3 separate regions of the Homo sapiens genome follow, and regions 2 and 3 are each linked to region 1. The links are contacts of gene promoters, found by promoter capture Hi-C in human tissues and cell types (Jung and others, 2019). All regions are on one chromosome and are shown on one strand. Each heading gives the region's core, a stretch centred on a gene start or on the middle of the fragment in contact. The rest is flanking DNA. Distances are from core to core; before and after follow the strand shown. Region 1 holds the start of FERMT2 (FERM domain containing kindlin 2). Region 2 overlaps STYX (serine/threonine/tyrosine interacting protein). Region 3 overlaps DDHD1 (DDHD domain containing 1).

Region 1 (3,212 bases), core at 388-2,887:
CCCCCAGAAAGTCCCCAACCCCCCTTCACCAAAACAAAAAACAATTCCAGCCTAAAAAGACAATGCCACACAGATAATCATCTTATCACAACTGTATTATGTACAAAAGGCTCTTTAAAGCTCAGGAAGATAGTTCTCTGAGCATTTCTCTTATGATCAAATCATCTATTTAGCTGACTCTTCCAGATGAAAATGGTTTCATTCATCACAAAAATGTGTACTGCACACTCTTCACACACTTCATACTGTAAGATACCTTATTATTTTAAATCGGATATCAATCCAATACATATTTGTACTCAAGCAAACACCGTCAACCTCAAATTAGTTTAACAAAGTCTGCTTTTTAACACAAAGTTCTTTCCTTGGCTTGTTATTAATATAAAACCGAACGCTCGAAACGGCTTACATCGAGCATGGACTATGGATACCAAGTTTGTCAAGCACTGCCCCACCCCTAGTAAGAGTGGATGACTGGAACATTTTAATGCACTCCACCACGTAGAACAGCCACAGAAACTTCACACTGGCGCCAGTAGTTGCACATTTTCCAGCACAGATTTTTCTTAAATGGATTTTGCATCATTCTCTATACCAAACGTCACTAACATTCAGGTATGCTGAAGACATAGATAACCACGGACACTGTAATATCACCCTCCCAACACACTTTCCTCATTCTTTTATCGTTCTGTCAGTAAATGTTAAGAATTAACGAGTTCCCCGGCACACATCCCCCGTCCCGCGTAACTACGCAATTAAGGTTATAATTGGGAGGCTCGAATCATTACATATGAAAATTCAGAGAATAGCAAAACAAAATAAGACGCAAAGGGGAACAGGTCTATCTGCTTAAATACTGAAAGATTTTACATCTCCAAAAAGCATTTGCGAGATGCCAAGATTTCTCAAATGGGCCCCTCCCCCGTCGTGAGCCTCTTTCCTCCCCCTACCAATTCTGGGAAGTCATTAGTTGGACGCGGCTGGGATGCTACTCACCGAGTTTCTCCACCAGCTTAAGCATCACGCCTCCAATGTGCACCTCGCCGGTCACTCTCAGGGTGACATCGCGGTTCAGGTCCGTCACATGGACACTCAGTTCCCACGTCCCGTCCGCGTAGCAGCCATCTGGCATCCTTATCCCGTCCAGAGCCATGGCTCCTTCCTGCGAGCGCGGAGGAAATGGCTCTCGTAAGCGTCACTCCCCCAAAGAAAGGCGAATCCCACCGAATTCGCAGCGCCGGCCACGGGCTGGGAGGTGGTGGAGGACCCGGGGCTTTCGGCAGAAACTCGGGAGGGCGGCGGCGGCCGGGGCTGCGGGAGGACCCTACGCCCCGCTCGCCCCGCAGCGTTCCTCGGTCCCGGCGCCGCCCGCCCCACACCGTCCCCGCCTAGCGGACCGCGGAGGGCTTCACCTGCCGGCCGGCCCCGAGACACAGCGCGGGCTGACTCCCCGTTCCCCTCCCCGCCGCGCCCCCTCGGGTCCCGGCGGGGTCCCGCTCCCTCACCGCGCGCTCCTAGCGCTCCGGGCCCGGGACTCGCGCGGCAACAGGCGAGGGGCTGGAGGCTCGCGGGGCGGCGGTGTCCGCGTCCGGTTCCTCGGCTGGCGAAGCGCTGCCTGTGGCCGGAGCGGCTAATGGAGTCCCGTCGTCGCGGCCCCTCGCCTGGCTCCCCGCGCTCCACCCTCTCCCCGCCCCCTCTGTCCGAGCCTGGCTGGGCTGGGCGCGCTGGCTCCCTCCTTCGCCGCCCGCAGAGCTGCCCTGAGCGGGTCCGGCCGGCCTCGCCTCTGCCCCCGCCCTCCCGGCGCCGCGCTCGGGGGAGGGGGCTGCGGGTCCCGGGCGGGGCGGGGCGGCGTGGGGCGGGGCGGCGCGGGGGTGGCGGGGGGCGCGGCGGGGCGGCAATCTCGGCCCCGCGGAGCGCTGCCCTTTTATGGAAATGAAGGACCCGGCTCAGGAATTGAATCCAACATCCGGGCTCTAGGCGGCGGGCCCTGAGGAGGGGGAGCGGGGGAGCGCGGGCGGCCTTTCCCGGGGCGCTGGTGGCCGGCGGGGCGTCTAGAGCTCAGGCTGGACTGGGGCCCCCGCGGCGTGTGTCCGCGCTGGCAGCAGGGAGAGGGGGCTTGTCCGTGAGAAACGGCCCCAGGAAATTCCCAGGGCAAGGTCGTTTTCGGAGAACAAAGTCCTCTCGCCCCCTCCCCACGCCTGCAGCGAGACAAAAAGCCTCAGGGAGGTGAGAGGTGCCGCACCCCGGGAGCTGGAGAGAGGAGTCTGGGACGGAGAAACTTTAAAAAGTAAATGCCCAAACCAACTCCTTGAATGTCCTACAAAAGAATAAGAAAACCCCGAGGGAGGTGAACCACAAAAATTGCTTTGCAAGCAATGTCCGGCACCATCAGCAACTCCTACTGGACTCCCAGGAGTTTGCAAGCGTTCTTAACCCCTTCGGACGCTCCAGCCAGATGCCAGTCAAACAGATGATGCTCTTGCCTGAGGGGAAAGGAAAGACACAACCTAGTGCCACAGGTTTTACTCAGAAACTGTTTCCCCAGCTTCTCCAGCTCTTTGTACTTATTTGTGTGTTTTTATATGCAAGTTAGAACTAACAGTCTATTAAAGCTGTTAGATGGAGATACATGTTCCATCCCACCCTCAGCCACACCTTGGATTTTAATACTTCTGGAACGGTGCCTGCAGGTACCAGGAAGAGCTAAACAACTTCACCTGTTGAAGACTGGCTAGTGATGGGGAACGGTCCTCCTGCTTCCCGCTTTTGTTTCCACTTCCCCCATTAACTGTTGTACTCTGTTGAGGGAACTCCTTTCAGAAACAGCAAACCAGAGAAACTGCCTCGCTAGCAAATTCATGGGCTCAGAAAATAAACGTCAAGAAGGCTCAGATTAAAATACCTTTTAAAGATAAAAGACTCCAGTTCGCAGTCTCATAATCTTGTCGAATTGTCTCAAACGCTTGGAAAAGGAACTCGCTAGGCAGATAACCTTTTGTTCATTAACATTACTGGGAAACAAGATGAGAGGCCTCAAGAAAGGGGTGGAACTCAGAAAGGAGTGAAAGCAGCAAAATTTAGTCAGATGCCAAAGGCTTGGCAGAAAAAAAAATAGGGAAAACCACTACAGTGTTTTTAGCTAGTTATCATGGAGAAATTGATGCCTTCAGTCTCTTATCTGTCTACTCTCCAATATTTCTACTCGTGGA
Region 2 (3,212 bases), core at 258-2,757, 190 kb before region 1:
GATTTTGTATTAATCCTAATGCTGGATTTGTCCATCAACTTCAGGTAACTTTTCTTCCTCTTTAAGGCAATCAGAAGTAAGATATAAAATCTTTTATACATGTAATTTAGGTGTACAATTTACTTTGTGAATACTTAAAATTGCCATAATCTGACTACTTTGATGCTTTATTCAAGTTTATATCTCTATTTAGAAGTATTTTCTTGGCTGGGTGTGGTGGCTTATACCTATAATCACAGCACTTTGGGAGAACAAGGCATTTGGATTGCTTGAGGCCAGAAGTATGAGATCAGCCTGAGCAACAAAGTGAGACCCAATCTCTAAAAAATAAAAAATTAAAAAAAAATTAGCCAGTCATGGTGGTGCATGGCTGTGGTCCCAGCTACTCAGGAGGCTGAGATGGGAGGATTGCTTGAGCCCAGGAGTTTGAGGCTACAGTGAACAGTGTGCCTTTGCACTCCAGCCTGGCCCACAGAGTGAGACCCCATCCCTAAAAAATTAAAAAAACTTTTTTTTCTTAAAGGCTGGCATTACCAAGAAAAAAGGGTTAAAGACACATTATCAAATCTAAAGTAAAATAATTGCTGTTAGAAATGTCTGATTTTTTTTTGTTGTTCATTTTGATCACACAGAGCATAAGACAGTTTTGATTCTAAGTATACTAACTATAACAGCTTTTTCTATTCTATGTTTATCTTTTCCATGTTGTTTCATATTTTGTTGATGCCTGGCAGATGCACTGACAAAGATGATAAGTCTATGAATTAACCTAATTAGACCACGTTGCTCAGTTTATTCCAAGAGGCAAAATCATAGGCTGCAGAATGTGCTCTGGCTAATTACATCCAATTATGTAGGAATAAAGCTCATGTTTCAACATCAAGAATATTTATTACAAAATATATTGTTATAGTTACCAAGGTTTAAATTTTATTTTAATATTTAATTTACTTTTAATTTTTACTACATTCAAAAGAGAAACAGTGTCATCTGTGTTCAGCCTGTTCATGTAAAATGTTTGTCTTCTAACTTTGTAAGTTTCTTTGCCTTTTACCATGTTGTAGAAAACATTGTTTTTTTTCATTTTTTTTAAACTATTTTTTAAGCTTTTCTTTTTTTTGTGGATACATAGTAGGTTAGGTATTTCGATACAGGCATGCAATGTGTAATAATCACATCATGGAAAAATAGAGTATCCATCCCCTCAATCATTTATCCTTTGTGTTACAAACAATCCAATAATGCTCTTACTTGTTTTCAAATGTGTAAAAACATTCTTTTTTAAAATTAATTTTTGTATTTGAAAGAATAGTATATACATATGTTTAAGAAGATTGGCCTGGCTCAGTGGCTCACACCTGTAATCCCAGCACTTAGGGAGGCCGAGGTGAGTGGAACACCTGAGGTCAGGAGTTCGAGACCAGCCTGGCCAACATGGGGAAACCCCATCTCTACTAAAACTACAAAATTAGCTGGATGTGGTGATGCATGCCTGTAATCCCAGCTACTCAGGAGGCTGAGGCAGGAGAATCGCTTGAACCTGGGAGGCGGAGGTTGTGGTGAGCTGAGATCATGCCATTGCACTCCAGCCTGGGCAACAAGAACAAAACTCCGTGTCAAAAAAAAAAAAAAAAGAATATTGGAAATATCCTGATAGGTACATCTGTGTGAATATACCTGTAAGGTAACTGAAGTGGAATTGGTGGATTCCAGTGCCTTTGAAATTTGATAGATGTTTCCAGATTGCCTCCAAAAAAGATGAAGTAATAATAAACTTATATCACCAGGAAACAAAAAGTGCCTATTCCTCCGAGTGCCTATTTCCTCCTACCCTAATTAACACCAGTAGCCAAAAGTTTTTTTTTTTTTTTTTTTTGAGATGGAGTCTTGCTCTGTCACCCAGGCTGGAGTGCAATGGCGCCATCTCGGTTCACTGCAACCTCCACCTCCCAGGTTCAAACAATTCTCCTGCCTCAGCCTCCCAAGTAGCTGGGATTACAGGCACGTGCCACCACGCCCAGGTAATTTTTGTATTTTTAATAGAGATGGGATGGCCGGGTGTGGTGGCTCACGCCTGTAATCCCAACACTTTGGGAGGCTGAGGTGGGTGGATCACCTGAGATCAGGAGTTTGAGACCAGCCTGGCCAACATCGTGAAACCCTGTCTCTACTAAAATTACAAAAATTAGCCAGGCGTGGTGGCAGGTGCCTGTAATCCCAGCTACTTGGGAGGCTGAGGCAGGAGAATTGCTTGAACTCGGGAGGCGGAGGTTGCAGTGAGCCGAGATGGCATCATTGCACTCCAGCCTGCGGAACAAGAGCAAGACTTCGTCACAAAAGAAAAAAAAAAATAGAGATAGGGTTTTGCCATGTTGCCCAGGATGGTCTTGAACTCCTGACCTCAGGTGATCCACCCACCTTGGCCTCTCAAAGTGCTGGAATTACAGGCGTGAGCCACCACTCCTGGCCCAAAAATGTTTTATCAGATTTTTGTGATCATTTGTTGGTGTTCCTCTCACCGGTTTGTAAGAGCTCTTTTTATATTATGGAAATCTATTTATAGCCTACCGATTTGAAATATCATTTTTATTTTATACCAAATTCTGATATGTCCTTTAGAAGTTTGAAGTTTTCTTTTTTAAGGTGCTTATGGAATGGCTAGTTCTAGTTTTTGAACCGTTAATATGGTGACTTGAGTTACTGGATCACATTAGATTGGATTTCCTAATATTGAATCATCCTTTTGGTCCAGCAATGGATCCCACTTGGTTATGATAGACTGTTCTGTTAATGTATTGCTGGATTGTATTTGCTAATCTTTTTGTTCAGGATTTTGGAATCAGTTAAATAGTAAATTGGTTTGTCTTTCTTTTTTTTTTCTGTACTATCCTTTTCTGGTTTTACTATCTCTGTCACAGTGTTCTCATTTTTTAGTGGAAGCTTTCCATTTCTCTTTGTGCCATGGATCAATTTAAATTAGATTGGAGTTACTTGTCTCTTAATGCATTAGTATATGGCACCTGTGAAATATCTGACCATAATGTTTTATCTAATTCAGTTATTCATTATTTCATTCATTCATATATTTTGACAATAGACCAGTTCTCAGACAACATTCTTCATTTGGTGTATCGGTTTGATTTTTTCTTTTCTTTCTTTCTTTCTTTCTTTCTTTTTTTTTTTTTTTTTTTTTTTTTTGAGGCAGAGTCTTC
Region 3 (3,212 bases), core at 300-2,799, 170 kb after region 1:
GTGGAAGAAAGGATATCAGGGACTGAAGATCACCTGACTGAAACAAGGCATGAAGAAAAGATTAGAGAAAAAAAGAATGAAAAGGAATGAACAAAGCCTCCAAGAAATATGGCACTATGTGAGAAGACGAAACCTAAGTTTAACTGGTATACCTGAAAGTGGTGGAGAGAATGAAGTCAAGTTGGAAAACACACTTCAGGACATTATCCAGGAGAACTTCCCCAGCCTAGCAAGGCAGGCCAACATTCAAATTCAGGAAACACAGAGACCACCACTAAGATACTGCTCAAGAAGAGCAACCCCAAGACACATAATGATCAGATTCTCCAAGGCTGAAACAAAGGAAAAAAGGTTAAGGGCATCCAGAGAGAAAGGTCAGGTTATCTACAAAGGGAAGCCTATCAGATTAACATCAGATTTCTCTGCAGAAACTTTACAAGCCAGAAGACAGTGGGGGCCAATATTCAACATTCTTAAGGAAAAGAATTTGCAACCCGGAATTTCATATCCAGCCAAACTAAGCTTCATAACCAAAGGAGAAATAAAATCCTTTACAGACAAGCAGATGCCTAGGGATTTTGTCATCACCAAGCCTGCCTTACAAGAACTCCTGAAGGAAGCACTAAATATGGAAAGGAAAAACCGATACCAGCCACTGCAAAAACAAAACAAAATATAAAGACCAATGACATTATGAAGAAACCACATCAAATGATGTGCAAAATAACCAGCTAGCATCACAATAACAGGATCAAATTCACACATAACAATATTAACCTTAAATGTACATGGGCTAACTGCCCCAATTAAAAGATACAGACTGGAAAACTGGATAGAGTCAAGACCCATTGGTGTGCTGTATTCAAGAGACCCATCTCATGTGCAAAGACACACAAAGGCTCAAAATAAAGGGATGGAGGAACATTTACCAAGCAAATGCAATGGGAAAAAAAAGCAGGGGTTGCAATCCTAATCTCTAATAAAACAGACTTTACCAACAAGGATCAAAAAAGACAAAGAAGGACATTACATAATGGTAAAGGGATCAATGCAACAAGGAGAGCTAACTATCCTAAATATATACACACCCAATACGGGAGCACCCAGATTCATAAAACAAATTCTTAGAGACCTAGAAAGAGACTTAAGACTCCCACACAATAATAATAGGAGACTTTAACTACCACTGTCAATATTAGACGGATCAATGAGACAGAAAATTAACAAGGATATTCAGGACTTGAACTCAACTCTGGACCAAGATGACCTAATAGACATCTACGGAACTCTCCACCCCAATCAACAGAATATATATTCTTCTCAGTGCCACATAGCACTTATTCTAAAATGACCACATAATTGGAAGTAAAACAATCCTCAACAAATGCAAAAGAATGGAAATCATAACAAACAGTCTCTCAGACCACAGTGCAATCAAATTAGAACTCAGGATTAAGAATCTCACTCAAAACCACACAACTACATGGAAATCAAACAACCTGCTCCTGAATGACTACTGGGTAAATCATGAAATTAAGGCAGAAATAAAGAAGTTCTTTGAAACCAATGAGAACAAAGAGACAACGAGTGAGGATTTCTGGGACACAGCTAAAGCGGTGTTAAGATGGAAATTTATAGCACTAAATACCCACATCAGAAAGCAAGAAAGACAGAAAACCAACATCCTAACATCGCAATGAAAAGAACTAGAGAAGCAAGAGCAAACAAATTCAAAAGCTGGCAGAAGCAAGAAATAGAGCAGAACTAAAGGAGATAGAGGACACAAAAAACCTTTCAAAAAATCAATGAATCCAGGAGCTTGGTTTTTGAAAAGATTAACAAAATTGATAGACTGCTAGCTAGACTAATAAAGAAAAGAGAGAAGAATTAACAAAATAGACTGCTAGCTAGACTAATAAAGAAGAAAAGAGAGAAGAATCAAATAGGCACATGAAAATGATAAAAGGGATATCACCACTAATCCCACAGAAATACAAACTACCATCAGATAATACCATAAACACCTCTATGCAAATAAAGCAGAAAATCTAGAAGAAATAGGGGTCCCTTCCAAGATGGCCAAATAGGAACAGCTCTGGTCTGCAGCTCCCAGTGAGATCGACACAGAAGTGAATGATTTCTGCATTTCCAACTGAGGTACCTGGTTCATCTCATTGGGACTGGTTGGACAGTGGGTGCAGCTCACGGAGGGCAAGCTGAAGTATGGTGGGGCGTCGCCTCACCCAGGAAGCAGAAAGGGTCAGGGGATTTCCCTTTCCTAGCCAAGGGAAGCTGTGACAGACTGTACCTGGAGAAATGGTACACTCCTCACCAAATACTGCACTATTCCCACAGTCTTAGCAACCGGCAGACCAGGAGATACCCTCCTGTCACTGGTTTGGCAGGTCCCACACCCACGGAGCCTTGCTCACTGCTAGCGCAACAGTCTGAGATCAACCTTTGAGGCTGTAGCCTGGTGGGGGAAAGGGGCATCTGCCATTGCTGGGGCTTAAGTAGCTCACAGTGTAAACAAAGAGGCCAGGAAGCACAAACTGGGCAGAACCCACTGCAGCTCAGCAAGGCCTACTGCCTCTATAGATTCCACCTCTGGGGGCAGGGCACAGCTGAACAAAAGGCAGCAGACAGCTTCTGCAGACTTAAACATCCCTGGCTGACAGCTCTGAAGGGAGTAGTGATTCTCTCAGCAGGGCATTCGAACTCTGAGAATGGACAGATTGCCTCCTCAAGCGGGTCCCTGACCCCTGTGTTGCCTGACTGGGAAACACCTCCCAGTATTGGCCGACAGACACCTCAAACAGGCGGGTGCCCCTCTGGGACGAAGCTTCCAGAGGAAGGATCAAGCAGCAATATTTGTTGTTCTGCAGCCTCCGCTGGTGATACCCAGGCAAACAGGGTCTGGAGTGGACCTCCAGCAAACTCCAACAGACCTGCAGCTGAGGGACCTGACTGTCAGAAGGAAAATTAACAAACAGAAAGGAACAGCATCAACATCAACAAAAAGGACATCCACACCAAAACTCCACCTGTAGGTCACCATCATCAAAGACCAAAGGTAGATAAAACCACAAAGATGGGGAGAAACCACAGCAGAAAAGCTGAAAAATCCAAAAAACAGAGCGCCTCTTCTCCTCCAAAGGATTGCAGCTCCTCACCAGCAAGGGAACAAAACTGGATGGAGAACGAGTTTGATG

What was found. The method cuts DNA at HindIII sites, captures the fragments that hold promoters and counts their contacts. A contact is called where the count stands out against the background at its distance.
Region 2: a fragment that was not itself captured here is called in contact with the fragment with the promoter of FERMT2 in region 1 in 1 of the 25 tissues and cell types used here (mesendoderm cells).
Region 3: a fragment that was not itself captured here is called in contact with the fragment with the promoter of FERMT2 in region 1 in 1 of the 25 tissues and cell types used here (aorta).

Annotation. Positions count from the first base shown.
Region 1 is chr14:52,949,413-52,952,624 of GRCh38, forward strand. FERMT2 (FERM domain containing kindlin 2) reads right to left here and starts at 1,638. Exons shown (of 15, transcript NM_006832.3): 1 at 1,509-1,638; 2 at 1,000-1,165. The coding sequence starts at 1,156. RefSeq lists a silencer at 1,407-1,616 and an enhancer at 2,337-2,915. The HindIII fragment of the contact is 21,614 bases long and covers 1-3,212 here.
Region 2 is chr14:52,759,711-52,762,922 of GRCh38, forward strand. STYX (serine/threonine/tyrosine interacting protein) reads left to right here. Exons shown (of 11, transcript NM_145251.4): 9 at 1-44. Among named protein-coding and RNA genes, the nearest start is that of GNPNAT1, 30 kb to the right of the region's middle. The HindIII fragment of the contact is 4,612 bases long and covers 1-3,212 here.
Region 3 is chr14:53,115,108-53,118,319 of GRCh38, forward strand. The region is part of intron 1 of DDHD1 (DDHD domain containing 1); the gene reads right to left. Among named protein-coding and RNA genes, the nearest start is that of DDHD1, 37 kb to the right of the region's middle. The HindIII fragment of the contact is 3,158 bases long and covers 1-3,128 here.